Linked DNA regions of Homo sapiens: all the other regions are linked to region 7. The links are contacts of gene promoters, found by promoter capture Hi-C in blood cells and fetal thymus (Javierre and others, 2016). All regions are on one chromosome and are shown on one strand. Each heading gives the region's core, a stretch centred on a gene start or on the middle of the fragment in contact. The rest is flanking DNA. Distances are from core to core; before and after follow the strand shown. Region 1 overlaps ZNF485 (zinc finger protein 485). Region 2 holds the start of ZNF32-AS1 (ZNF32 antisense RNA 1). Region 3 has its middle 24 kb from the start of LINC02658. Region 4 has its middle 48 kb from the start of LINC02658. Region 5 holds the start of DEPP1 (DEPP autophagy regulator 1). Region 6 has its middle 63 kb from the start of ZNF32. Region 7 holds the start of CXCL12 (C-X-C motif chemokine ligand 12).

What was found. The method cuts DNA at HindIII sites, captures the fragments that hold promoters and counts their contacts. A CHiCAGO score of 5 or more calls a contact.
Region 1: a fragment that was not itself captured here is called in contact with the fragment with the promoter of CXCL12 in region 7 in 1 of 17 cell types (megakaryocytes); the score reaches 5.3 in megakaryocytes.
Region 2: the fragment with the promoter of ZNF32-AS1 here is called in contact with the fragment with the promoter of CXCL12 in region 7 in 6 of 17 cell types (erythroblasts, megakaryocytes, fetal thymus and 3 more); the score reaches 8.5 in erythroblasts.
Region 3: a contact is called between a fragment that was not itself captured here and the fragment with the promoter of CXCL12 in region 7, in 1 of 17 cell types (M1 macrophages). The highest score is 5.6, in M1 macrophages.
Region 4: a contact is called between a fragment that was not itself captured here and the fragment with the promoter of CXCL12 in region 7, in 3 of 17 cell types (M1 macrophages, neutrophils and erythroblasts). The highest score is 5.9, in M1 macrophages.
Region 5: the fragment with the promoter of DEPP1 here is called in contact with the fragment with the promoter of CXCL12 in region 7 in 1 of 17 cell types (M0 macrophages); the score reaches 5.3 in M0 macrophages.
Region 6: a fragment that was not itself captured here is called in contact with the fragment with the promoter of CXCL12 in region 7 in 11 of 17 cell types (naive CD8 T cells, total CD4 T cells, monocytes and 8 more); the score reaches 9.3 in naive CD8 T cells.

What each region holds. Positions count from the first base shown.
Region 1 is chr10:43,614,427-43,618,784 of GRCh38, forward strand. It overlaps ZNF485 (zinc finger protein 485), which reads left to right. Exons shown (of 5, transcript NM_145312.4): 5 at 1,865-3,478. The coding sequence ends at 2,943. Among named protein-coding and RNA genes, the nearest start is that of ZNF485, 10 kb to the left of the region's middle. The HindIII fragment of the contact is 2,517 bases long and covers 351-2,867 here.
Region 2 is chr10:43,641,160-43,645,521 of GRCh38, forward strand. ZNF32-AS1 (ZNF32 antisense RNA 1) reads left to right here and starts at 2,713. Exons shown (of 2, transcript NR_047557.1): 1 at 2,713-2,948; 2 at 3,691-3,888. ZNF32 (zinc finger protein 32) reads right to left here. Exons shown (of 3, transcript NM_006973.3): 3 at 2,703-3,642. The coding sequence ends at 2,891. All of the region lies in intron 1 of ZNF32-AS3 (ZNF32 antisense RNA 3), which reads left to right. The HindIII fragment of the contact is 1,613 bases long and covers 1,340-2,952 here.
Region 3 is chr10:43,752,553-43,756,867 of GRCh38, forward strand. No RefSeq gene overlaps it. Among named protein-coding and RNA genes, the nearest start is that of LINC02658, 24 kb to the right of the region's middle. RefSeq lists an enhancer at 1,197-1,908. The HindIII fragment of the contact is 1,177 bases long and covers 2,000-3,176 here.
Region 4 is chr10:43,729,011-43,732,878 of GRCh38, forward strand. It overlaps the pseudogene SPRING1P1 and the pseudogene UQCRHP3. Among named protein-coding and RNA genes, the nearest start is that of LINC02658, 48 kb to the right of the region's middle. The HindIII fragment of the contact is 2,381 bases long and covers 414-2,794 here.
Region 5 is chr10:44,976,153-44,980,145 of GRCh38, forward strand. DEPP1 (DEPP autophagy regulator 1) reads right to left here and starts at 2,657. Exons shown (of 2, transcript NM_007021.4): 1 at 2,466-2,657; 2 at 1-1,903. The coding sequence starts at 1,878. The coding sequence ends at 1,240. The region is part of intron 3 of RASSF4 (Ras association domain family member 4); the gene reads left to right. RefSeq lists enhancers at 1-37, 2,629-2,923, 3,553-3,993. The HindIII fragment of the contact is 406 bases long and covers 2,542-2,947 here.
Region 6 is chr10:43,710,140-43,713,866 of GRCh38, forward strand. No RefSeq gene overlaps it. Among named protein-coding and RNA genes, the nearest start is that of ZNF32, 63 kb to the left of the region's middle. The HindIII fragment of the contact is 2,008 bases long and covers 511-2,518 here.
Region 7 is chr10:44,383,366-44,387,184 of GRCh38, forward strand. It overlaps CXCL12 (C-X-C motif chemokine ligand 12), which reads right to left and starts at 1,732. Exons shown (of 3, transcript NM_199168.4): 1 at 1,580-1,732. The coding sequence starts at 1,640. RefSeq lists enhancers at 1-675, 676-1,367 and a silencer at 3,261-3,470. The HindIII fragment of the contact is 14,357 bases long and covers 1-3,819 here.

The sequences.
Region 1 (4,358 bases), core at 359-2,858, 770 kb before region 7:
ACACATGCCACCATGCTCAGCTAATTCAAAACATGTTTTTTTTCTGTAGAGATGGAGACTTGCTATGTTGCCCAGGTGGTGGGTCTGGACCTCCTGGCCTCAAGCCATCCTCCTGCCTCAGCCTCCCAAAGTGCTGGGATTACAGGCATGAGCCACCGTGCCCAGCCCAGTTCTTCCATTTGATCAATCCCTTTCTTTTTTGTCAGTGCTTTTTTGTGTCATGCTTTATTTAAAATGTTTATTTTAAATTATATATTAACAATTATTTACTAACATTTATTATTTTTGTGATTTTAATATTTTTTCTTTTCCCGAGATCATGAAGATATTCTTCTGTGTTAATTTCTAGAAGCTTTATTATTTGGTTTTTATGTTTACATTTACCATCCTCTTAGAATGGATTTCTGTGCATCATATGAGTTAGGGTTTATATATTTTTTTTCTCCTAAAATGTACTAATGCAGAATCTCCTCTTCCTCACTGCTTTGCAAGACCACCTTTGTCATAGAAGAAGTGCCCATATGTGTCTTCACGTTGCCAGCTTTACAATCAGTATCTTGAAATTTTCTCTAGTTTGATCATAATACATTAAACACATATCCCATCAAAGGCCATTGGAAGAATGTGGGCTGTTTCTGACTGGGCTTCACCTTCAACTTACATTTCCTTGAAAAAATAAGTCTTAGCTCTAATATCCATTGCATGGAATTTCTCCCCAGACTACTAAGTATAAATACATATAAATATATGTATGTGTATATATCTTTAGGTATAGATAGATACAACTTATGTTTATAAGAAAAGCGCATTTAGTAAAATAATTGGTTGGTGATTGTTAATTTTACTACAAGTTTGGCTCTATTAGTTTTTCAGAACGTTTTTGTCTGAATCATTTCGCTCTGTCTGTCTTAGGTCTTGTGTCTGTACTTTGTAAAAAGCTAGAGAAAATTCACATAGTACACCCATTGATTGGTAATTTTTTTTTTGTTTTTTGAGACAGAGTCTTGCTCTGTCACCTAGGCTGGAGTGCAGTGGCATGATCTCAGCTCACTGCAACTTCTGCCTCCCGGGTTCAAGCGATTCTCCTGCCTCAGCCTCCCGAGTAGCTGGGATTAAAGGCATGTGCTACCATGCCTGGCTAGTTTTTGCATTTTTAGTAGAGACAGGGTTTTGCCATGTTGGCCAGGCTGGGCTCGAACTCCTGACCTCAAGTAATCCACCCGTCTCGGCCTCCCAAAGTGCTGGGATTACAGGCATGAGCCACCGTGCCTGGCATAGGTATGTTGTTTTTTAGATATGTTAAAAATTTAGTTTATAGTAAAATCTTATTGGCCTGAGAACTATTTTTGTTCCTTGAATATTTTTTCTGTTTTCTTTTTTCCACTGAGCAATTAAATATTGGTTCACTCTTAAATCCTCACAGAGAACTATTTTTCTCAAGTTCTTGGTGACATCATAATGTTCTCAAATATACCACCTGCAGAAATCTGCCCTAGTAGTAATTATAGCTTGCTTTGTGACTCTGGGCTTTCTCCTCAATTTTGTATTTATTCTCACATTGTCTTTTTTCTTTTTTAGCTGTTTCCTGTGTTGTCTTCCTAACTTGGCAACTTCTTAGGGGCTCACTGCATTCTTTAAATGCAATGTTTATAGTACAGATTCTTTTCTTTTCTTTAAAATCATACTTCCTTTTCCTGCCCTTAGTCTGGCCATCTTTTCTCAGCAAGAATCACAAGTGGGACACATTAATAATTTTTCATAACCTTTAGTTATGTAGAATAGAACATTATTCAAGTCCTTGCACAACTCTCACTTTCAGCATTTCAACATAAAGAACATTTGAATTTTTAAAATTTTCTTTCAGTCGAGGATTACTGGTTTGAAACAAAGATGTCAGCCCTAAAGCAAAGCACTTCTGAAGCATCTGTTCTGGGAGAGCGAACGAAAAGTGTCATGATGGAAAAAGGCCTGGACTGGGAGGGCAGAAGCTCCACAGAGAAGAACTATAAGTGCAAGGAATGTGGGAAAGTCTTCAAATACAATTCGTCCTTTATTAGCCACCAGAGAAATCACACCAGTGAGAAACCACATAAATGTAAAGAATGTGGGATCGCCTTTATGAACAGTTCATCCCTTTTAAATCACCATAAGGTTCATGCAGGCAAACAGCCTTATAGATGTATTGAATGTGGGAAGTTCCTGAAGAAGCACTCAACGTTTATCAACCATCAGAGAATTCATTCTAGGGAGAAACCCCACAAATGCATTGAATGTGGAAAAACTTTCAGAAAGAACTCAATCCTTTTAAGTCATCAGAGAATTCATACTGGCCAGAAACCCTACAAATGTAATGACTGTGGGAAAGCCTTCGCTCAGAATGCAGCTCTTACTCGTCATGAAAGAATACATAGTGGAGAGAAGCCTTTTAAATGTAACAAGTGTGGGAGAGCTTTCAGGGATAATTCAACTGTGTTGGAACATCAGAAAATCCATACTGGTGAGAAGCCATATCAGTGTAATGAATGTGGAAAAGCCTTTAGGAAGAGCTCAACTCTTATTAGTCACCAAAGAATGCATACTGGGGAGAAACCCTATCACTGCAGTAAATGTGGAAAATCTTTCAGGTATAGCTCATCCTTTGCTGGTCATCAGAAAACTCACAGTGGAAATAAACCGTATCAGTGTCGTGACTGTGGGAAGGCCTTTACAAAGAGCTCAACCCTTACTGGACATCAGAGAATTCATACTGGAGAAAAACCCTATCACTGTAAGAAATGTGGGAAAGCCTTTCGGCACAGCTCAGGCCTTGTTGAACATCAGAGACTCCATACTGGGGAAAAACCTTATAAATGTAATGAATGTGGGAAAGCTTTTCCCCGAAGTTCAGCCCTTAAGCAACATAAGAAAATTCATAATAAAGAAAGAGCCATGAAATGTAGTTAGTGTGGCAAATTGTGCAGAGTAGTTTATTCCTTCTGACCATCATAGAGGAGACATTAAATAAATTATGCATTTAACAGAAATACTCTGTACTTCTGAGAGAACACATCACTTGTGAGGATATTCATTGTGAGGTTCTACTAGTGAAATATTTGAAGAAACTAAATGTATGTCAGTATGGAAGTAGTTATAGCATACTGTGTGCTAATTGAAAAGAATGAGGTGGAGCTGTAAATACTGTACAAAGCCAGGCATGGTGGCATATGCCTGTAGTCCCAGTTACTTGGGAGGCTGAGACAGGATTGCTTAAGCCCAGGAGTTTGAGTCTGTAATGCACTATGATTGTGCATGTGAATAGCCACTGCACTCCAGCCTGGGCAACATAGCAAGACTCCATCTCTAAGTAAAAAAATACAACAGTAGAAATATACCCATGATAATATACCCAATATACCCTTGTTAAAGAAGCAAGTTTCAGGAAATCTATATTATATGCATTCAAAAAGACCTGGACAAATAAAGACCAATCTTAACAGCAGTTATCTCTCTCTCTCTCTCTTTTTTTTTTTTTTTAAAAGAAACTAGCTCTTACTCTGTCACCCAGGCTGGAGTGCCATGTGATCATAGCTCACTGTAGTTTTGAACTTGGGCTTGAACAACCTTCCCACTTCAGTCTCTGGAGTAGCTGGGGCTACAGGCACGTACCACCACACTCAGCTAACAGCAGTTATCTTTGATGAGGATGTAGTATAGGTTGAGCATCCATAACTGGAAAATCTGAAATCTGAAGTGCTCCAAAATCCAAAATTTGTCTGAGCACCAACAGGTACAAAATTCTACACCAGACCTTATGTGATGGGTTGCAGTTAAAATGCACCCCCGGCCGGGCGCGGTGGCTCACGCCTGTAATCCCAGCACTTTGGGAGGCCGAGGCGGGTGGATCATGAGGTCAGGAGATCGAGACCATCCTGGCTAACAAGGTGAAACCCCGTCTCTACTAAAAATACAAAAAATTAGCCGGGCGCGGTGGCGGGCGCCTGTAGTCCCAGCTACTCAGGAGGCTGAGGCAGGAGAATGGCGTGAACCTGGGAAGCGGAGCTTGCAGTGAGCCGAGATTGCACCACTGCAGTCCGCAGTCCGGCCTGGGCGACAGAGCGAGACTCCGTCTCAAAAAAAAAAAAAAAAAAAAAAATGCACCCCCAAGATTCCTTATTATTTGCATGCAAATATTGCAAAGTCCAAAAAAGTCTGAAATCCTAAATACTTCTGGTCTCACGCATTTCAGACAAGGGATACTCGACCTATATTGGTATGATGAAGTGAAATTATGACTTTGACTGAGTTCTTTGAAATGAAATATTTAATCAAGCATCATTCATGTATCTTCTGTAACTTAGTATAGTTATCTTCCTATATAA
Region 2 (4,362 bases), core at 1,463-3,962, 740 kb before region 7:
CCGACCTCAGGTGATCCACCCACCTTGGCCTCCCAAAGTGCTGGGATTACAGGCGTGAGCCATCGTGCCTGGCCTCAGATTTTTCCTATATATAAATTTTACAATGGCTTATCCTTAAAAAGTACTTAAGTTATTCTATTATTGCTGCATAACAAATTACCTGAAAATTTAGTGGTATCCAACCATAATGTTTCATTTTTCTCATGATTTTGTCAGGGATTAGGTGAGGCAGTCTCACTTTGGAGTCTGTCATGCAGTTTTGGCCAGATGTCAGATGGGGCTGCAGTCATGTGAAGGTTCTACTGGGCCGGAAACCTACAATGACCCTCACACATGGCTGGCAGGCTGTTGGGAGCTCAGCTGAAACTGTTGGCTGGAGCATTTATATGCAGCTTGTCCATGACAGTGATTTCAGGATAACTGGACTTTTTACATGGGCTGGTTTCACCTGAGAGGAAGTGTCTCAAGAGAACCAGGCAGAAATTTTTCAGACCTTTTAGAGGCTTTTCAGAACTATACTTGGTGTAGTATCATTTCTGTTGTGTTCTATTGTTTGAAGCAGTCACAAGCGTGTCCAGATTCAAGTGGTGGTGACATACCCCCCATCTCTTCATGGGATGAGTGTCAAAGAGCTTGTGGGCAATACATTTATACTGTTTCATGGTTACTGAAGTATATCTTACATGTAATAAAATGCACGGATCTTAAGCATCGAGTTCAATGAATTTTGGTAATTGTTTAGACCCCTGCATCAACTGCCTGATGTCAGGTACAGAACATTGTTTTCACTCTGTAAACTTCCCTTGCGTGCCTTTCAAGTCAATCCTCACACATAGTTTTTCCTGTTCTGTGAAGGCACATAAGTGGAATTATACTATTTGTGTATTTGGCTTCTTCAACTCAAATAAAACTTTCAGATTCATCCATATTGTTGATGTACCACGTGTATGTTCTTTTTTATTGCTGAGTTGTATTTCACTGTATGGATATACTACAGTTTCTTTATCCCTCACCCATTGTTGGACATTTCTAAGTGTGTGGCTATTATAAATGAAGATGACATGAACATTCTTGTATACAGCTTCAAATGTTATTGTGGTATCTTTGGAATATTTTTGTATTATTAGAATCCAGTGTTTCCAAATTGTTTCAGTGCTCAAAGACCTTTGAAATTTACCTCTCTACATGGTAAAGATTTACTATTACAAGCTTTTTGGGATTAAGGAAGCAATAATTTATAGCAGGGGGTTCCCAACCCTGGGCCATGGATCAGTACCAGTCTGTGGCCTGTTAGGAACTGGGGCACACAGCAGGAGGTGAGTGGTGGGAGAGCAAGCGAAGCTTCATCTGTATTTACAGCTGCTGCCTGCTGCTCACATTACTACCTGAGCTCTGCCTCCTGTCAGATAGTGGCAGCATTAGATTCTCATAAGAGTGTGAACCCCATTGTGAACTGTGCATGCAACGGATCTAGGTTGTGCACTCCTTATGAGAATTTAATGCCTTATGATCTGTCACTGTCTCCCATCACCCCTAGATGGGACTGTCTAGTAGCAGGAAAACAAGCTCAGGACTCCCACTGATTCTACCTTATGGTGAGTACCTTATAATTGTTTCATTATATACTTCAATGTAATAATAATAAAGTGCACAATAAATGTAATGTGCTTGGATCATCCCAAAATCATCCCCCTCTGTGGGAAAATTGTCTTTATGAAACTGGTCCCTGGTGCCAAAAAGGTTGGGGACCACTGATTTATAGGATCCACTAGAAAGGATGGAATGGTGTCTTACCAAGAAAACCAAAATCTCTATCATTCATCATTTCACTTACATAAATGCTCAGTATGAAAAATTATAGAGATGGCTAAGATTTTAAAAAATGGAAATGGAAATTTCCCCTCAAAACCAATTTCTCCTCTGCAGCCTTCTTCAAATCTCATCCCCTGGAGGTCAGAAAAAAGGATGGGTTAGAATTCCAAATTTCTTGGTGTGTGTGCAGGAGGAAGAGGATAGTATTGTTGGAAAGTGGAAGTTCATTATTGACTACAAACTACAAGTCTGGGTTCAGTAATAACACTTATATCCTTTCTAGATAACCCAACCCCAAGATATTGCTGCTGTTACCAAAGAGGGAGTGAAGGTCTCTGAAAATGTAGGAGTCCCTTTAGTAGATGGGGAGAAATGGGTTAAAGATTTTTAAAAATTGCACAGACAGTAGTTGTTTGCTCTTTGGTTACAGGTGAATTATCTCTATCCTAGTTAGGAGTGGAGGACTGAAGTATGTCTCAATGCACAAACTAAGGCTGTGCAGGCTTGGAAAGAAATTTTCTTTTGTAATAAAAGGCTAGGCCCCTTGCTATAGACATGAGTGATTAGTTACAATAGGTTATTGGGGGTATCATCCAGGTAATGAAATGTTCAACAAGAAGATTATAAAGGTAACTAGATTTGCCCCATGGATTTTGCCCAGTGGTTTTGAAGGCAAAACAAGATTAATTTGAATATGTAAGGAAGAAAAATAACTTGGGATTGATGAGGGGCTGATTTTTTACATTTATAAAAGCCTGATGGTGTCAACTACAAATTTAAAATCTGTATTGGGTATACACAGAACAATCTCTAGTGTGGCACCAGATTAATGGGGGTACCTTGAAAAATCAGGTCAGAATAAAGTGACAGAAATTATAAAACATACATGATAATGATAATAAACAAGACATTTATTTTTCATACTCTTTTGGGGGAAAGGAAAAAAATCAGTTTGCCCTACCCAATGATGGTCTTTCTGAAAGATTCTCCATTCATTCCATAGAACTGGATAGGTTGCTTCATCTCAGAGGATTTTGTACTCTTAATTCATAAAGAGAACTTCTCTTCAGGAAAGTGGTCAAAGGGTGAGCCTCTGTGAGCAGCTTCGCTGGTGCACAGCCAGACTCCCTCTCTGGGTGAAGCTTTTTCCACACTGGCCGCACAGATAGGGTGTCTCTCCTGTGTGGATTTTGCCATGCAGAATACAATTCCCCCTGGTGTGGAAACTCTTCCTGCACTGGGTACAGGCATAGGGCTTCAGGCCTGTGTGGACTCTGATGTGAACAATTAAGCTTCCTTTCTGACTGAAGGCTTTTCCACACTGATCACATCTATAGGGCTTCTCACCACTGTGAACTCTCCTGTGAACAGCAAGGTTACTCTGATTCCTGAAGCTTCTCTGACAAATAGCACACTCGTAGGGTTTCTGTCCAGTGTGGAGTCTCTCGTGGACAGCGAGACTACCTCGTTGACTGAAGCTTTTCCCACACTCCTTGCACTGATAAGGCTTCTCTCCCGTGTGTATCCGTTGATGTGTAACAAGATTGCCTTTGGCCCTGAAGCTTTTTCCACAGTGGGTGCACTCAAAAGGCTTTTGACCAGTGTGGATTCTCTCATGTAACGTTAGACTACCTTTTTGCCGGAAGGATTTTCCACACTCCTGGCACTCATAGACCCTTTGTCTCACTCCAGGTGAATCTTCCTGTAGTGTCTTCGAATCTGGGGATTTTTGTTCCAGCTTCTCTCTTCTGAAAGAATTTTGGATATCCCAGCTTGAGGATCCTGTAGCCTCAGAGTGGTCATATTTGTGGTGGGCTTCAGTCATCACATCTGATAAAATGAGAGGGAAGTCATATAAGAAGCACCAATAATGCTGAGTTAGAATAGGGAAAAAGAAACATAATACTTTGAGTGCTTATGATGTGCCAGGCCTTATTCTTTGCATAGACAATGCAATCCTGAAAACAATGCCATGAGAGTGATACAGATAATGGGAGCAAAGGGAGCCTGTCAAAGGTCACAGAGCTAGGTAAGTTAGAGCTGACTCAAATAGGCATTCTCCATAGCAGTGTACTGCCTCTAAATTTAATTTAGGCCAACAAATAACCTTGTAAGATAGACATGGTTTTCTCTATTTTACAGGTCAGAAAACAGGCTCAGAAAATTTAGAAAACTATACAGAATCACACAGAGCCCCATACCCAACTTTTATCTGACTCCAAAACAGGTGTGGATCCAGGCTATATAAGGCCTAAAACTTTCCCATTTTAGAGGCACCCTTTTAAGAAAATGTATAAAATTAAGCACAGGGTCTTGGAGAGACCAATCCAAGTGAGGGGTCCTAAAACTGAAGCTGCATTTGCTTCTTCAGAAATCCACCTCTGTCCAATCTGTTCTGACAATAGAATAAGCACCATGACCTCAGAAAATATGTAGCACAATCCTGGGTACTTTACATCTATCATTGCTAATCCCTGCAACCCTACAAGATAGAACTTATTGTCCTATTTTACAGACGAACCTGGAGCTTAAGGAAGTTAAATAACCTGT
Region 3 (4,315 bases), core at 1,338-3,837, 630 kb before region 7:
GGGGTGACTCTCGCCAGACTTTAAGACATGTCTTCACAGTTTGTCATCTACAATGGGAGAAGACACTTTGGCTGTGTTCCTCCAGTTTCAGAGAAAATAACTGTGCCTCACAAGTTCGTCTACTAACTTCCAGCCTCTGGCAATAAAGTCACAATCTCTTTCTAGAGGCCCAGGCTGGGTGCTGCAGGCCACCTTCCCACAGTCACTTGGATGATTTAAGGTCACATTAGGAAAGAGATGGCAGATGCCAGTTCCCAGGTCCACGATCAAACAAAGACTCAAAGGAAAAGACTTTGGAAACAAATAAGCCTGGCTCTTCCAAAAGCCACACTTCAGCAGGTTATGGGCAGGCTCTATTGAAGGTTTCACTGCAGTCATTACTGGCTCCTGTGAAAAGGTCAAGGCCCTAATTCAGATGCTGGAGCCACTTCCCCAGCCTTGCAAAGGGAACATGGAATGCAAATATGGAATAAAGAGTAGGTTCTGCTTAGGACCTGGCCACTCAACTACCCCAGGGACTGTGGTTACCAGATAGTACCCTCCTGCCTGCTTCAGAGGTCTCCCCAGCCTGGGCATGGTGCACCCGACAGTCATCTCCAGAGAGCTGTCTCTACTGTGCTGCATACATTGCGGTCCCTCTCTGTACACCCGAATTGGGCAGGCAGGCCTTCCCTTTTCTTCTTTCCCTTTGAGAATGAAGTGTCCGTGGGAACACTGGGACGTTCAAGCCTCCCATCAGCATCTCTTCCTGCCTGTGTGAGGGCATCTGCCAGGTTAGTCTGAGAGGCCAGGACAGACCCTGCCTCCCAAGGTCTCCTTGGTTCCATGTTCCCGGCAGCAACTCCAAATGGTGGCTGACCAGTGGCAGGCCCTAAACAGTCCTGTGTGAGGGCTGGCACTCTGAGTATGACTGTGTGAGCCTCCTCAGCCGGGCCCTGGGCCCCAGAGGGGGGACTCACCTTCCACATGGGGCCCGGGATGCTTTGACCTCCACACTGCCGGCCCAGCCTCCTGGGCTTTGTGTGGCTCCGGGCGGGCGGGCCTTTCTCCACCAGGGCCTCCTGGGGCAGCAGAGAAAGCACCCCAGTCCCGTTTCCCACCCTCTAACAGCGGGGGCTTGGACTTCCCTGGGTGTCCCAGGCCCTTCTTGTTGCAGCAGGAGGATCCTGTGCGTTTGATCTAAATCTGGTCTCCCGCTGGAGAGGCCCAAACAATCTCGGTCAAAACAGTATTAACAGGAAACCTGTCTCTCAGGGCCAAGAATGCAACCAAAATAGCTCCAAGTCTTCAATTCCGATAGCAGCACCGTTTGGGAAGGCTTTACCTGAGAGAGACAATAAGTGGAACTCTGTCCCCAAATATCCCGCCCTGCCTCTGCAGCCTCCATGGGGCCTGGCGGAACACAGGGAGTGTGGGGCTGCTGGGCGCCAGGCTCCCCAGGTGGGTGGGTGGTGAGCCCTGACTGTCCTCCGAGGGTGGAGATGGGGATTCCGGCTCCAATCCCACTGTGCAACTCGAGTGTGCCACAATCAAAAGGCTTGTTTTGACTGAATTAACTGAGCAGGTTTTTTTTTTTTTTTTGAGATGGAGTCTTGCTATGCCACCAGGCTGGAGTGCAGTGGCACGAGCTTGGATCACTGCAACCCCTGCCTCCTGGATTCAAGCGATTCTCCTGCCTCAGCCTCCGGAGTAGCTGGGATTACAGGCGCCCATCACCATGCCTGACTAATTTTTTTTGGATTTTTAGTAGAGATGGGGTTTCACTATGTTGGCCAAGTTGGTCTTGAACTCCTGACCTCAGGTGATCGGCCCACCTCAGCCTCCCAAAGTGCTGGGATTACAGGCGTGAGCCACTGTGCCTGGCCCAGGTATTTTGTTTGGTGGAGATAATTGAGAATTTTAGAAGGAAAACAATCCTTGTTTTAAAGCATCTAATTTCGCTGTGAAATATTTACAAACTCAAAAAATACTACAAGGAAGAAGATACAAGTCACCCATAAGCTTACAGTACAGACAGAACACAGCTCACGCCTGTGGGAACGCTCAATATTTCTTCTATTTATGTGCACGCATCTACATAGACACCAGACATACAGCACACTTTTTAATGGGTTTGGGTATCTCTTGCTTCACTATTTTCCTCTCCCTCCAGGCAGCCCTTGCTGCCAGCTTCCAGAGGTGTCCGCTACCTCGGCAGCACATCTGCATTTGTTCAGAGGAGCTTTCATATGCAAGTGGTAGCACAACAAGGTACTTTTGTGGCCCTTCCTTTCCTTTTGAACTTGACCCTGTACCTTGCAGAACCTTCCAAATCGTACAGGCCTCCTTCTTTACGAACTTGTATAATATTCTACTGTATGATCACACCATAATTTATTCAGTCCCCTATTGTGAACATTTAGATTGTTTTGAGACTTATTTAAAAAAATACTCAGTTTCTCACTTTGTAGAAGTGGTGTCCTTGAGTCAAACACTTCTGGTGCTGAGTGCTTTGCCAGCCTGCTCTCCCCTGAGCTTGTAAACCTGCACTCCCACTTGCAATAATAGCTAGGAGAGTGTTGATCTCTCCGCACCATCACTCACACAGTTTGCCATCACAGCTTTTGAATTTTGCCAACTTGTTAAGTGAAAAATACCACTGCCTTTCTTTTAAGAGTGAGATTGAAATCTGTTCCCATATTTGAAAGCATCTGCACTTTTGCTTCTCTGAACCGTCCATGCGGTTTTGCTCACTTTTCTACTGGTTGTTGGTATCTCTCTTTTTCTTCTCTCTTTTTGATAGCACAGTTTTTATTTTTTGGCCACTACTCCTTTACTACTTCTTAGCCCAGGAAGAATAGAAGCCGCCCACAATACAGTTTCTTTTTCTTCTTTTAAATCTCCTACCTCACAGACTGTCTGCTTCCTGAAAACATGGCTTACCCATGGTTCCTCACTCAGTCTGTTTACTGATGCTTTCCCTGCCAAGTGACCAAACTAGGTCCAGAGTAGCTCTAACCACCAACCCATGTACCCAGCTCCCAGAGGGTAATTTTATTCTGCAGAGAAACTTCTAGCAATGTACCACACAAGCTGGAAGAAGCAGCATGCCAGGTGGTAAAGAAAATATTTGGTTATTTTGGCTGGAAATTCTTGTCCTGTATAAAATTGTCCGTGGTAGTTGGTGGAGGGAAAAAAGCTTTCAGAGTCTAATATTACTGATTCAGTTTCCTCACAGTTGTTCTGGCAAAGTCTATGTAATTGCAAAAATGATTTGCTTTACTTAGAGTTTTGCTCCTCATTATTCTGAGATGTGAAGTTCTAAAGAGACCGAGGTCTCTATCGGGAAAGGTTTCCTCACCATCAGTCTGAATGTGGTGTGTCATCTGAACTTCTGCCTGTGATTTTTAAATCCTTTTAAGTTTTTTTCTAAGTATTGGCCTTTTAGTTCCATCTTTTAAGAAATAACCACAGGGAAAGGACTGTAACTAGCACAGCGGACAAACATAGACACCATTTTGCAGAAATGATCAGACTTTTTCCACTCTGTCCTCCCCAACCTGGTCCCTGCCCAGTGACAGTGAGATACACGCTGTGTCTTTCTTTCTTCTCTTCTCATCTGTGCAATTCCTGTATTCAGAGGCATCAGGATGTAGAGTGTTAGGCAGCAGGCTCTCCCCCTCACTCCTCATTTTCATGGATTTTATTTGTGTTGAAGGCAGAGGCTCCCTTGCCACTGAACTGCTGACTGCATGGTTTGGATGCTCAGCCTGTGGCCTGTCGAAGGAGGATGCCACCAGGGTGGTCTGTCACTTCTGAGCCATGAGGAATGTTCAGACCTAATTGTTCTTAGTTCGAAATTCTACTGTTTGGAAAATGATTTTCTTTCTTTTTCCCCTATAAACACTAATAAAGGATTCATCATGTTATAATATTTGCTAGATAATCTTTGCTACATAGACTACATTTTTCTTTTTCTTTTCCAAGGGAGAAATATTATCTCGGACGGCAGGCAATCTGCCAGTGTTTGTGATTCTTGAATTCTGAATGTATCTAGAACATTGCTATCTTGATATCTGCTGGCATTGGGGAGTAACAGTAGTAATAAACATAATGAAAAGAGTAATAGCAATTGTGCAGCACTTCATATGTGCCAGACACTCTTCAAAGCACTTGATTTTTCTTTTTTTTTTTTTTTTAAATTATACTTTAAGTTCTAGGGTACAAGGGCACAACGTGCAGGTTTGATACATAGGTATACATGTGCCATGTTGGTTTGCTGCACCCATCAACTCGTCATTTACATTAGGTATTTGTCCTAATGCTATCCCTCCCC
Region 4 (3,868 bases), core at 354-2,853, 650 kb before region 7:
CGACTCAAACCTGGGATCTGCACAGGGACCTGTGACTTGTGTTCGTCGGGAGCCGGTGTCACTTCCAGTTTTGATCCAGGCCCTTTCACTGTACAATTATTTATTGGATTCCTTTGGAGTAGTGGGAAAATTGTAATGTTTTATGTAGAAAAATGCTTTGCCCTTCTAGCGACCGTGTTCAAGGAAACGATTATAGTTGTTGTTCTTGTGTTCTTGAGTTTCACGAGTTAAATCATCCTTTCACCCAGATAATATGTTTTGTCATTTAGGATGTAGATGTTCTCTTTAGGCAGTTATTTTTGTTTTTATTTAGACAATATCAAGAGTAGGCCCTGAACACAACCTGTTAACCATATCCCAATGTCTAAAATTATCTAAAAACTCAGGCATTCTTCCATTCTTATCTAACTGAAAGCTTTCCAGCAGTTGGCACCAAGTGCGCACCCTCAGGTTCTATTCTAGTGGTGGTTGAATGTGCTCATATACCCCGTGTGAGAGCACCGTTTTAGCCCGAAATCACACTTCTCATCCTGGAGGAATTTGTTTGCATTTCTTTTGCCACTTAAAATTAGCTGTGGTCTGCTCAGCCAGGGGACAATGGAGCTTCAGGAAGGTCTGAGGCAACCTCCTCCCTGGTTCTGTCAATAGAAACCCAATGTTAAGGCAATTCCTAAACAGAGATGCACCTAGCAACTTGCTGTATGTGTTCATTCTTTATTGCTTTCAGCTTCAGGGGGTGTAACAAGTATAAATGTTTGGTTTCCTTATGAGGAAGAAGAGGAAGAAGAAGAAGGAGAAGGAGAAGAAGGGGAGAAGGAAGAAGAAGAAGAAGAAGGAGAAGGAGAAGAAGGGGAGGAGGAAGAAGAAGAAGAAAAGAGAAGAGAAGAAGAAGAAGATGAAGAAGAAGGGGAAGAAGAAGAAGAAGGAGAAGGAGAAGAGGAAGAAGAAGAAGAAGAAGAAGAAGGAAGAAGAAGAAGAAGAAGAAGAAGAAGAAGAAGAAGAAGAAGAAGAAGAAGAAGAAGAAGAAGAAGAAGAAGAAGAAGAAGACAGGCGAGGGGGAAGACCCAACTTTCTATCAAAGTTCTGTAAGAGATTTCTTCTTACAGACTGGAAGGTTTCTTCTTTTTTCTAAGCTAGAGTGCAGTGGCACGATCTCGGCTCACAGCAACCTCTGACTTCCTGTTTCAAGCGATTTTTCTGCCTCAGCCTCCTGAGTAGCTGGGATTACAGGCGTGCACCACCACACCCAGCTAATTTTTTTATTTTTAGTAGAGACGGGATTTCACCATGTTGTCCAGGATTGTCTTGATCTCCTGACGTCGCGATCTGCCCACCTCGACCTCCCAAAGTACTGGGATTACAGGTGTGAGCCACTGCGCCCAGCCAGAGATTCTTACATCTACCTCCAGTGGGAGATGAGGAAGATCATTATGGCTTAGACAATGCTGCACAGGTAGGTTGCTGGTATGTCCTGAATCCATGTGCATAAAGCACTTCCCATTTTTCTACTGCAATGCAGACTCTTCAGCTCAAGGCCTAGAGTATTTGATCCTAAGATCAAGACATTATGCCCCTTGAATAGCAGTGCTCTTTGATTTCATGTGTAACATTAACACACAGCCCTCCTATATTCCTTCACTAACTTCAGGATTGAGCAAGGTCTTTTAAATTTTTTTGGTTCAAATTATTGACCTGGGAGCAGGGTGCTAGATCTATGGTCAGCATTCAACATTTTTTTTTCAGTGGAGGTTTTTCTTTGGGCTATATTTGCCTTCCAGTATGTTTCTGCAATATGTAGTGGTAATTTTCCTTACCTTCCTCCAACTGCCTCTTATACTCATCTTTCGAAAATAATTTGCCCCCCTTAAATAGATTTTCTTAGAGGGTAGGTTGTCAGGCAATTAAAAAATATTAGATCCCAAGAAATCTATTCTGTTTGCATTGGATTTTTTTCAGATTCTGTGTGTTCGCAACAGTACTAAATCAAACTCTGATGTGGGGGAAAAAAGTATGTCAACCAAAAATTTTATATACAGCAAAATCATTCTTCAAAAACAGAGATGAAATTAAGACGTTCTCAGGTAAATTTAAGAGATGAAGTTTGTCATTAGTAGACCTGCCCCCCCACAATGCTAAAGGGAGTCCTTCAGGATAAAATGAAAGGACACTAGGTAGTAGGTCAAATCCACACGAAGAAATACAAGCACCTCATAGGTAAATATAAAATATGGTATAATGTTTTTTCTTTTTTTTCTCATTTTTGATTTAAAAGTCAATGCAATAAAGTAATAATTATAACACAGTGTTAATGGGTGTACAAAAAGATGTAATTTCTATGATGACAATTGCACAAAGAAAGAAATGAAGAGAATGGAGCTATATAGAAGCAAAAGTTTTTATATACCATTAAAATTAAGTTGATATTAACTTGGACTAGATTGTTAGAATGAAGTATAATCCCCATAGCAATCACTAAGAAAAATAACTCAAAAACAATCTTAAGGAAACAAGGGAATTAAAATGGTACATTAGAAAATATCTATTTAACATAAAAGATGGAGAGACAAACTTTACATGTTTGTAGATGAAATAATGATGTAACAGAGCTTGATCCAGTTTTTTGATGTTTGATGGTTGACAGCTTTGAAGCCTCATCCTTCCTCCTTCTGTTTCTGCTTCACATCTGGGCAAACTGATAAGAAAGCCTGGGTTCTCCCTCCTTCAGCCAGGGGAGGTTTACCACATGTAGGAACCTACACTGAGGCCCTACTCGCTAACAACCATAAATACCCCAAGCTTTTCTCTGCTCTCTCAAGCCATTTTTGGCACTGCTTGTGAGCCGCGGTGCTCTTTTCAGAAAGCCTCATTATGTGAGTCACGAACCGTTCCATTTTCTCTTGGGGTCAATATAGTATCATTAGTCTTGACATCTAAATCAAATTTTGGAAGGGATTCATCCTATGCAGGGTGAACATAAACAACTCAAGACAATTATAAATGGAGGGGGGTAAATTGACTTATAAAAAATAGATGCTTATACTTCACTTGAACTGATGAAATAATGACATCATTAGAGTGTGATATTTTGTATATATGGTATAATACTACAGCAGCCATATACACAAAAGCTACTCAAAGAGCTGCACATTCAAAAACAGTATAAAGCAAAATAGAATTCTGAAAGTTCAAGTAACCCACAGCAAAGCAAGTAAAAGAAAACAGAGAAATAAAAAACAAAACAAAATATTCAAGTCCTTTTTGATCCTGAAGTCAATTAGGTGCCGCTGTTGCTGCTCATATTGACTCTGGAACCGTAGCCAGACATGGGACTGGAGGATGAGCAAAAGATGCTGAGCAGGTCCTGAGATCCTAAGGAGGAGGAAGAGGAAGAGGAGGAATGAGTGAATCCCCTAACAACCGTGAGATAGCAATGTGAGCAGTTGGAGAAATGTGTAAAGGCCTGGAAGCAGCTAGAGCTCTGTGACAAGCGTGTTATCCTCTCGATCACATACAGAAGAGGATTGCAAGAGGAGCTCTTTGACTTCTTGCATGCAAGGGACCATTGCTTTGCCCACAAACTCCTTAACAACTTGAAATAAATGTGAGGACTTATTCACCCCAGCCTTCATCACCTGGGCATCAGGATATTTCTTTATGGTTTTGAATATGCCATTTGTTTCTTTTTTTTTTCTTTTTTAAAATTGTCATTATACTTTAAGTTTTAGGGTACATGTGCACAACATGCAGGTTTGTTACATATGTATACATGTGCCACGTTGGTGTGCTGCACCCATCAACTCATCATTTAGCATTAGGTGTTTCTCCCAGTGCTATCCCTCCCCCCTCCCCCCACCCCACAACAGTCCCC
Region 5 (3,993 bases), core at 1,407-3,906, 590 kb after region 7:
CAGTGCTCATAAATGCAGCTCCAAGTTCACATGCGCAGATTCCCAGCCCTTGCAGGGTGTGAAGAACATTGCTGATGTCCCCATTTTATAGATAAGGAAACTGGGTAATTGCTTGTCTGAAACTTTTTCCTTTTAATATGGTTTACATTCTATCTCCAGAGAAAACACACTTAACAGAAGACAGAAAACATTTAACAAATCCAAAGCAATTAAAAATAGCCACAAAAAAAGAGAATAACCTAGACTGACAGCTCACAGAGCAAGGAGGTGGCAGAGACCTGCCCAGGTGAGCTTGGCTGTTGCCCCCAGCTCAATCTTCCTCCTCTCCTCTCTCTGTCCCTTCACCTCTGATCAGTCCCAGCCTGATTCCCGTTCCCTGATGCCTCACCTTCTTGCTGCCAGATGCCTCTAGGAACTAGGGTCCTTCAGACTCCAGATGCCCTGACCTGGGCCTTAGGACATCTTGACTTCCCCAGTGGACAGCTGGACAGTGCCCTGCTCTCACCCACAGCTGGGACCCTGACCATGCCATGAGGCCCCTGTGTGGAAGTGGTGTAGGGGTGGGGATGGTAGCACTGAGTGGTACAGATTCTATCTTGGCCCTCATCATGGGGGAACTCTCCCAATGCCACCACAGGACGTATGAGTTGTAGCCAGCAGAGTGCCCCAGTGGTGCCAGGTGACAGTCCCCCGGAATACATTAGTGCATTTGCTAAGACTCCATGTGTTCTCTTGGGCCTCACAGAACATGGGCTTTGAGGGTGGGAGCCAAGAGGCAGACTTGGGAGTGCCCGAGGCCTTGTTCTGAAACACCTGGGGGGCTGACACCCCCACTACCCTCACACCCCTACCACCAGTTTCCCCACCAGCGATGATGGTAGCTACTCAGCCAGTGGGCTCCTATATGCGGTTACACGTCAGAATGGCCTGGGAGGCAGGTGCCAGTAATTATCCCTATATTACCCATGAGAAACTGAGGAACACAGATGTTAAGTAAGTTGCTCAAGGTGATCAGCCAGCAAGGGTCAGAGCGAACGGGATTGGTAACATCTCCTCATGTGAAACAGGCTGTTATCATATTCAGAGGGGGTCGGTCTCACTGTGAACTGCCCAAGCAGGGGCCTCTGCAGAAAAGCATTTCCCTTTCAGAGACCTGCCAGGGGCAGTGACCACCATGGAGGAGACGAGAGGAGATGCAGACCCAGCATGCTCTCTACAGAAGCCTTTACTGGGGAGGGGTCAGAGTTCATGGATCACCGGGAGGTGCGAGTAGAGTGTTCTGAGGACACTGCTGGGGCGGGGGCGGTGGCGGGAGGCCATGGCTTGGGCAGACTGCCCAAAAGTCCAGCTTCTTAGGTCAGAGCTCTGCTGCCCATCCTGCGGTGGTCTTGCCAGGGAATGCCCAGGCATCCTGGCTTCACAGAGCCTCCCTCTGGGGGCCCCCATGGGCTTGCTGCTGTCCATCTGTCTATGTGGACCCCAGAGGCCAGCAGAGGGGCCAGTCCTCCTTGGCAGGTCCCTCTGGCTTGGCTGCTTTTCCTGGGACTCCCCAAAAAGCCAGTCCAGGGGGTCCACAGTATCAGCCATGGGCAGTGTGGGCTGCTGGCCACTGAAACGTGCGGTGATGTCTCGCAGGGACACAGCAGGGCGGCCCTTCCGGCAGGCCTGGGCTGGCCTGTGGGGTGGCCTGGGTTGGCCCTGGGCCGTGGCCTTGTCCAGCACAGAGGTGGGCTGTGCCAGTCGAGATATAGACCTCACGTAGTCATCCAGGCTAGGAGAGGGTGGGGGCTCCTGTCCAGGACCCCCAAGCAGCATCTCCTCCGTGGTCTCCCGAATTGTGGGCAGATGGGCCACGGAGAGCAGAAGCCGGGACCTCATCACTCTGGCGAGAGGAGGTGGCAACCTGTTGGGAAACAGAAGCCTGGTGGTGAGGGCCTGCCATGCGTCCCACCGCCCCTCAGCGTCACCACACTCCTCTGGGGCTGCCTGTAGGAATCCGGTGCCCTGAGAGCAATTTGAAGTCTACAGAGCCCAGACCAGAGCTCCGACTGCTGGGATCTTTTCTTCCTGTTCAGGTTAAAAACCCCAAAGGCTTAAGATTTTATCATTATCGTTTCAGAATGTGCACAGATAAGAGAACCTAACCTAACAAACACTGGTCAGAGGAAGGCTGGGTTTAAAACCAGGATCGGCCACGCACTGACCATGGGACCTTTGGCAAGGCCACCTCTCCAGGCCTCCACTTACCCATCCATAAAACAGGGTTATAAATACCCCTGGCCGGGATGTTGTAGGAAATGCATGAAATAACCCCTGAATCCCTTTATAAATGCAAAGCCCTCTACAGACAGCCCTGGTCTCTAACCCATAGGGAGGCTGTGCAAGTTCAGGCTGGGAATTGCCCTCAAAAATAAACAAAGCCCTTGTGTTTTGTCTCAAACCCAAGGGCAGCTGCTCTCTCTTACCTGGAGCTGAGGAGGTCTGGGGGTGGCAGGAGAATGGATGAGCAGGGACAGTCCAGTCCAAAGGAAGCCCCTGGGAAGCTTGGGGGCCGAAGGGTGGAGGGTCCGGCAGGGGGTCCAGCGTGGGGTCGCTGGGAGGAGGACAGTGCACTGAGTCTCACAGTCCACCGTAGCAGGCTCTTCCCTGAGCAGTGTGAAGAACCTTCGCAGGCAAGCTGCTTTTATACCTTCCCAGCAGCTATCAATCACTGTCACGAGGGCCAAAAATAGCCTGCTCGGAAGGCTGTCTTAGGAAAACAGCTTGGTGGGCGGGGCCTGGCCCAGCTGCCAGCTTGGAGGTGTTTTTCTGCCTGTAGGAGGCTGGGGAATGTTTACGCTGCAGGGCAGGAAAGGGGTGGGTTCACTGCTGGTCAAGTAGGGGCACTGGGAGAGGGAGGGGTTCCACTGGGCCCTCACAGGTAGCCCCAGGGCCACCCCTGCCCCAAAGCTTGTTTCCCACTCTGTGTTACACCACCCCATCATGACTCCTGTGAAGTTGGGCCAGGTCCTTGGCAACTTTGATGAAAAATCAGCAGCACAGGACCCCAGTCTGGAGGCAGCTGAGGCTGGGTCCCTAGGCCTGCTCCTAGGAGAGACACACCCTGCTCGCAAGGGACCAAGGGCGGTCTGCGGGGTCTGACCCTGGTCTTCTTACACCCCAGATGGGGTGCTTTCGGAGGATTTGTTTGTTTACTTGTTCACCAGATATGAGGTGCTAGTGTGTGCTGTGAATGCACTAAGCACAGCAAACGTAGCAGCGGACAAAGGTGTGGCCCCCTGGAGCTCATATTCTAGTAAGGGAGGAGATCAAGCCAGAGATGAATGGGTGCTGTGATTCAGGCAACAGCAAGAACTGCCTGAAGGAAAGCAGCGCAGTGGCATGCTGTGGTGGGCTGCCGCCACAGGTACAGTGGTCAGGGGTGTCTTCCCTAAGAGCAGATATTGGAGCAGAAACCTGAAAAAAATGGGAAAATGCACATTCCAGGTGGCAGGGGCAGCACGTGCAAAGCCCCTGTGGTGAGGGCGCGCCGGACAGACATGCTCAGGGCACAGCAAGGGGCCTGCAGACTGGCCCATGTAGGAGGGGGTCAGTGGACCTTGGGGTGGATGCTGTGTTTCCCTCTAGGAGGGAGGGAAAGACTGCAGGGTTTGAACAAGGGCACTGCAGTCTGGCTTCTGCTTCAAAGGATCGCTGCAGCTGCTGGGACTGGGCTGGGGCTGGGGCTGGGGGGCTGCCAAGGAGCACCTGGGCAACATTAGAAAGCCACTGCATCTGTCCAGGAGTGACCATGCCAGCAAAGGAGGCTGCCAAGGATGAGAGAGGCAGCCCCTGGGAAGCTCCTGCACTCCCCAGACAGGCCACAGATCCTCTGCCCCAGCCACAGCCCCACCTGGAACACGCCTGCCTGTGCTGCAGGTGGGGGAGAAAGAGGAGTCTTGAGAGTTAGCCCAAGCCTGAGCTCTGAGTACTGGGCAGACCCCAGACTCCCTA
Region 6 (3,727 bases), core at 265-2,764, 670 kb before region 7:
ACTAGCCCAGTAAGTACAAGGATATGGGACTAGCCTAGTAAGTACTAGGATGTGGGACTAGCCTGGTAAATGCTAGGATGTGGGACTAGCCCGGTAAGTACTAGGATGTGGGTCTAGCCTGGTAAGTACTAGGATGTGGGACTAGCCCGGTAAGTATAAGGATGTGGGACTAGCCTGGTAAGTATAAGGATATGTGACTAGCCCGGTAAATACTAGGATATGGGACTACGCCGGTAAGTACAAGGATGTGGGACTAGCACCAGGTCTTTCTTCTGACTCTTGGCTGCATGCTCAGTCTGTATCTGTTCACACAGGAGAGGGCAGGTGCATCATGATGTGGCACCAGAGGGGGTCTGCAGGGCATGAATAGCAGTACCTCTTCTACACACAGCACTGCAGCAGGTGCAACCGCAGACCCCATTACTCTGTATCTAGGGGACATAGTATATGGCAGAAGGTTCCTAAGACCATTTTTGAAGATAAAAGTCTACACGTTCAAGTTGTCATGGAAGCTTGAAAGTGCCACATCTACACAGAAAGACTGATTGGTCTATGGGGGAAATAGTTGTTATCAAACAGGGACGAGCCAGATGGAGCTGGATCTTGCATGGGGCTCACAGAATGCAGATGTGGCTTGGAAGGGAGGGGTGCTTGGGAGGGGAGAGGGATGAGACTCTGAGCTGCCTTCCCATGAGCCCAGTGTGGACCAGGGGTAGGTGGCAGGACAGCCATGCAGCCCTTTCTAAAGCATGCTGGCAGAGGCCTTACTAAACAACCCAAGGAGCAGGCAAACAGATCAACTGAATCGCAAAAAGGCCGCTCAGCAGTGCCTGAGCTGCCACCAAATGTGGTCTTCTCGCAAAACACATGGAGGGAAATGTGCAATCCCCTTTCCAAACTTCAGAAGATTAAAAGGGTAAACACCTCCGAAGTCAACAAATGATGCCATCAGGGCAGGAGAGCCAGGGGGAAACAGGGGAGAAGCGAAAGTGGGGACAAGAGCTAGGAATTCTGGAAAGAACAGTGCTTGCCATCATAGAGAGGCTGCATAGTGGGTGGTGAAAAGAAAACAAAAATATTAAAACCAGCGAGAAGGGCTGTGGGGGAAAATGAGAAAATAAATGAAAGTGGAAGAGGATTTAATGAGTTCTGGGAAGAAAACACTTAGTTGGAGTGGGAGGCTAAAGGGATAGGGGGTGGAAAGAAACAAGCTCTTAAGAGTTGAGAATGACTGAAATGGCTCCTGACTCAACAGTTTTGAATTACAGTTTTGTATGTAAAATTAAGTTATGTATAGCCATTGCGGACAGGATGTGCAGCCTCTCTGTTGATAATGCTGTTGGCTGCTCCATGGATTTATAAGCATCATTGGATCCAGAATAAGTTGCCCTTTATCCCCCAGCCTGGAAGTGATTAGGCAGGACTTCTCTTTGGGCACTCTCAGCTGTGGCTGAGAGAGAAGGAAAGAATTAGGGAAGCAGGTGCATCTTCCTGTGGGCAGGAATCTCAGTGGTTTAACCAGCTCACTAGAGGTGGCACTCAGGGGTGAAGGTGGCAAGACCACTAGAGGAGGCGCAGCCAGGAGGCAAGTGAGCGAGGGAGGGGCCTGAGGTCTCAGGGCGATTGGGTCCACAGGTGGCACAATGCTTGTTATCTGGCCAGGAGAATTACCGGCCCAGAGACACCAGGTCCAGGGCCAGGCTGGACGAGGATGTAGACGTCATACCAGGCATTTGTGTGCTATGCCAAGAGGTGGGCAGGGTAGAGGCACTGGAACCAACAGGGCTCGGTCAGGTTGGCCTTGGGGAAAGGTCACTCTGGCAATACCGATGCCTCTCTCCTCCCAGCCCTTTAAAAATCTAAGTGGATTCACATTTCCTCAGTATCCTCTGGAGCCTAGGTCACAAGATACATGGTTCCCACCCATGCCCATGCAGAGGAGGGTTGCTGGGGGGATGTGTGCAGGCAGCACTGAAGGGGGAAGCATGGGGTGGGATTTCAGCTTAAGTGGGGAGCAGACAGACGAGCAGAGAGACCCAGGGAGCATCAGCTGATACACAGCCACGCACACACCTTCCAAGTGACAAGGGTTGTGCAGAGGCCATTTTGTGCCCTGCAGACAAGCACTGTGGACCTTAATGCAGACATTTGGCCTGATGGTTGGGGCCCCTGGGGCTGGGCTCAGGGTGGGGATTTTAATTTTTCTTTTCTTTTTTTCTTTATTTTGAGACAGGGCCTTGCTCTGTTGCTCAGACTGGAGTGCAGTGGCACGATCTCGGCTCATTAACCTCTGTGTCCTAGGCTCGATCAGTCTTCCTACCTCAGCCTCCTGCGTAGCTGGGACTACAGGTGTGCATCACCATACCCAGATAATTTTTGTATTTTCTGTAGAGACGGGGTTTTGCCAAGTTGCCCAGGCTGGCTGCAAACTCCTAGGCTCAAGCAATTCTCCTGCCTTGGCCTCCCAAAGAGCTGGGATTACAGGTACAAGCCAGGCCAGGGGTGGGAGTTTTTACAAAGCTTTTTATTTAGAAATAATTTTAGAGTTACAGGAAAATTGCAAATAAAGTACAGAGAGTTTTCACCAATACAGTATGTACATTTTAGAGACCCCCCTTAGCACGATAATGAAAACTAAGAGATGAACAGTGCAGTATCATTGAGTGAATGGCAGCCTTTATCAGATTCCAGCGCTTTTCACGCTGTGATCCTGTTTCTCTTCCAGGATCCCACCTTGCACACAGCCCTCATGTCTCCTCAGTCTTCTCCAGTCTGTAACAGTCCTCATTTTGCCCCTTTTCTTTCATGCCCTCGAGACTTAGAAGGATGCTGCCAGTTACTAGGCAGAATGTCTCAGTCTGGGTGGGTCTGTAGTTTTCTCATGATGAGGTCACACACTTCTGGCAGGAGTGTCTGGAGCTGGTGTGCCCTTCTTGGTGCAGGACTGGGGAACCCGATGCAATATGGCTTGTTACTGTCTTTCCAACGATCATTTCTGTCATAAACACTATAGGTCTCTATGTAAATTTAAGTGGCTGAGCAAAGGGCGAGGTGAAAGATGTTTTCCCTCTTTTGAGAGTGGAGCTGTGAGTACCTAAGAAGCACAAACACTATCATCCACTATCCATTGGGTTCACAGGAGCCTCAGATTGGACCCAGCTCACCTGCCTGTAAATCTGGAACTCGCTGCATGGCACTCTCCTGAGACAGGTATCCAGGTTCTTCCTGAAGTGATGGGCAGTGGCCCTTGGTGGGGCAGTCCAGCTGGCCATCCCCAGGCAGGACCTTCTGTTCCGCTCCCACTGCCTCTCCAGTGCCTGGCACACAGAGGTGCTTGGTACGGATCTGTTGGACAAGTGAACGTCAGAACACTCTTTGTGTTGAGCTGATCTCAGAGTCCCTCTAAATTCTACTCTTTGGGTCCATTTCTGTCCTCTGAATCACACACAAATACACACTCTTCTCAGTTGTAATTTTTCTTGTTAGACTTAGTTTTCTTTGCTACTAAATGAAGTTAAACTTTGTTTCCCTCAATTTGATAATCTTTGTTTTTTCCCAATTTTTAAATTATGGTAAAATATATATCACGTAAAATTTACAATCCTAGCCATTTTTAAATGTGCAGTTCAGTGGTATTAAATACATTCATAATGTTGTGCAAACATGATCACCATCCATCCACAGCATGCTTTTCGGCTTGCAAGACTGAAACAGTGCTATTCTACTT
Region 7 (3,819 bases), core at 482-2,981:
GGATGAACCCCACGTCTCTGTGCTTCCCCCAGGTCAGTTGCACCCATAACTCAAAGACCGAGGTTCCTCATTCCAATCCTCTCTCCAGCCCTCCGGGGAGGGGGCAGCACCATTTCCCAGAGCGGCGCACTGTGACACCTCCGCGCTCATCCCACCAATCAGTCAATAACTGCCCAAACCAGAGACCTTACAGGAACAGAAGAATATCCAGCAATAAAAACTAGAAACATGCCCCATGACTTGCGGGGGGGGGGGGGGGTCAGTGTGCAGACACAGCCTCAGGGACTTTTCATCAACGACGAACATTCCCAATTGCCTTCAGTCTGTGTCCTTAACACTTAGGCAGTCCGCCACGACCCCAGGCTGCCCAGCTTCTCCAGCCCGACTCAGCTGCGCTGGTCCTGCTCACACCAGCGCACAGTCCAAGCCAGCTAGGACGCCGGGGCCACGTCTGCACCAACCCAGCCAAGGGCTCGAGGCGCGCTGGGCCTGCACAGCCCGCGGCTGCAAGAGCACTCAGAGTGTCCTTCAACTCTTTGCAGGAAACTTCACAGCCAAGGAAGCTCAGCGGCCTGAGCCACAGGGTTTTGTTTTGTGTGTTCAGAGGCAACAGTTTATTTTGGTTTGCATCGGTGTCCTGTGACAGCGCAGCGAGTTTCTCTTCAGCGAAAGAAAAGAAAAAAGCCCTCTCCCAGTGAAACGGGACACCACGGTTCCCAGTGGCCCAGGGCCTTGGAGATTGAACTTTGCTGCAGCTCTCATTCTGGGGCAAAGCGCTTGGCCAGCTGGTGACAAAAGAGCCTGTCTGCAGGTGTGTTTGGGGAGCTGGGGAGGGGGCGTGTGAGGCTCGGAGGGTCCCTGGGCCTCTCTCAGGTGAACCCGAGAAGAGACAGGAAGACAGCGGCTGGACGCGCGCCCAGGTCCGCGTCGCTGCGGACCGCGGAGCTGTGCAGAAGCGCGGCCTGGCGGGTGGCACAAGCCCGACAGCTGCGCCGCGCAGCCCGCCCGCGCCTGGCCAAGAGCCCCGCGAGGGTGTGGGGAGAGGATCGGCTTCGCAGGGAGCGGAGGCTGCGCGGCTGCATCGGACCTCACAGCCTCAAGTCGCGGCATGAGGCGAACTTTGCAAAGCGCGCTCTCGCCATGCACCGCCCGACCTCCAGCACTGTGCGCAGCAGGACCTCGGAGCCCATTCGCCTGTGGAAACCGAGCCCGCAGCGGGAAGGCAGTGGGTGGAGGGTGGGCAGGCAGGGGTCTGGGGTCCGCGGCTCCCCACCCTCGCGCCTTCCCGCGCCAGTCCCGAACGCTCTCTTGGGGCGTTCCTGCCCAGTTGTCCCGGCTGACCTCGCTCTGCAGCCAGCTTGAGGTCAGGCGGTCGCTCTCTGCAGGTCACAAACCCTCGGCGCAAAAGTAGGGCTTTGAACGCGACACCGCACCAGAGCGCCCAGCTAAGCGAGCTGCCTCCACCCCCACTGTGTCGGGCGGCGCAAACTGCGGGCGCAGGCAGAGGAGCCGCGGCTCTGCGCCGGGCGGGAGCCGAAGCCCAGAGCCTCGCCAGGGCCTCCCCGCCGAGCGCACTTACCGTCGCTGAGGCAGAGCGCGGTCAGCACGAGGACCAGCACGACCACGACCTTGGCGTTCATGGCGCGGGCGGGCGGGCGGGCGGGCGGACGAGCGCGGGTCGGGGGCCGGACGCCGAGCGGGCAATGCGGCTGACGGAGAGTGAAAGTGCGGCGGTGGGAGGCGCGCGCCGGGCGCTTTAGAGGGGAGAGCCAGGCGGGGCGGGGCGGGGCGCGCGGTGAGGGGCGGGCCCGGAGCCGAGTGCTGGCCGTGGCCGGGGTCTCTGACGCGCGACTCCCTCGGCGGCACCCCCCACCCATCCCCTTCGCCCCTCCTCCGCTCCCTCTGTGCTCCCGAGGCGCAGTGCGCTCCGGCCTTTGACCTTCTCAGGCTCCGCTGGGCCCCGCACCGCTGGCCCGGTCTGCAGTGAGGTCCGCAGCCTGAGCGACGCCGGCTGGAGGGCCGCTTATTGTCCCTGTGACAGGGCCCCACTGGAGAGACTGAGGACCTTAGGCGTAAAGTGGGGCGCGCGTGGAAAGCTGCGGGACGGGGCCTTTCGATGGCGGGAACTGAATGAGAACCAATGAAAAGCAAACAAGTTAGTCCCGGGCGGAGGGCCTGCTGGCGGTGGCGGCCCAAGGCAGCCGAGGGGGTCCTGCTTTCTGTGCGTGGGGGCTCAAGCTCGCCACCTGCCCGGCTTGCGGCGCAGCCGCCGGCAGAGCTCGATCTGCGGGAATGAGACCCGTCTTTGCAGTCAGCGTGGCTCGGACTCCAAGCCCACGGCGCCACCAGCCGAGCCTCAGTTTCCTCGCCTGTACAAACAAAGCAGAAGGCGCCGGCGGCTCTCAGTAAAAGCGAATGTAGCCTTTGTACTTCCGACCTCTCAATGGTGAAATGAGCTAATCACAGGCCCACCCCGCGGAGTGGGACGGGAGATTCAATGAGACCCGCCCCACGCCGCGAAATTCTCTGCATCGTGTCTGACAAGCAGACAGTACTCAATAAATGGTAGCTGTAAGTAAGTCCTTTAAACCTAAGTACTTACTGCCTTACCCAAGAAAAGCTCCGTGCGACCCAAAGAGCTGAGAACTCCCCCACCCCGACCTCCGACTCCTAGGACAGTACTACTGGCGTCTGCCTTCTGGGTCCAGAAAACTCTTCCCACGGAGCCGTCCCTCGGCGGTGCTTAGCCCTCCGGATACCCCCGAGACATCCCAGATGGCCCCAGTCCGGTGGCGAAGGGAGGGTGCAGGTCGGCACCCAGGAGACGTGGGGGTGAGGAGAGCGCCCCTTTGGGCCTCGCTTTGTGACCGCAGGCTGCCCCAGCCACCTCTCTGTGTCCTTCCCAGCACAGCGTCCAGCGAAGTGGGGTCAGTCGCCGCGTCCATCCAGGGGCCTGCCCTGGGGACACGTCCCTGTCCCTGGGGAGTCCTGGCCGTCGGGGAGTGGGCGGTCAGCGGCTGCATTAGGCGGGAGCGGTCAACAGGAGGCTGCGAGGGCTCCGGAACTCCGCTGGTGGGAGTAGGTGTCTTCTGTGCATTTTTTTTCCAAAACCACTTTGGCCGTTAGATGGCTGTGGGCCGGCACTCCATCCATCCATCCATCCATCCATCCACCCACCCACCCACCCACCCACCCACCCTGGGCACTGGGCTTGGAGCCGGGAACCCCACTGACTTGGCCCTGCTCTTAAAGAACTGAAGGCAGTGAGGTCCAGTGAAGAAGGCAGCCGTCGGGCGTCCCCAGGCCTTTGCTGGGCTGGGCCGGGGAGCCTGGCCGCTCACCGGCCGCAGCGCTGGGGCTCCGGCGCCCTCTGGTGGCGGCGCCTCCCTCCCCGCTCCCAGAGCTCTGGCCAGCTCCATTCCTGCGCAGCTGATGAAACCCGGGAGGGCGAAGGGGTCCGCGGGAAATCTACACCCGGGTGGAGGGGCGCCCTGGAGCTCGGAGATCCGACCCTGCGGGAGCCGCGCGCAGCCTCGCTTGCCCTTAAATCTGGCCAAAGCAAACGCCATCGCCTCTCGCTTCTTCTTCTTCTTTTTTTCTTTGCCACAAAATCAGGTGGGCAGCTGGACCTAGGATCTGTCCCAGAAGCCTGAAAGGCCCGCGTGGGCTGAGTCGAGGGCGAACCAGGGATTCAGGCCTGGCCGCTGCCCCTCCCGCAGGCGCCCTGAGGCCCCAGAACAGAAGCTACTGTGGCACCCATGGGGCCATCCCTTCCGCTAGTCGTTCGTTAAATACTTACTGAGCACCCACTATGTGCTA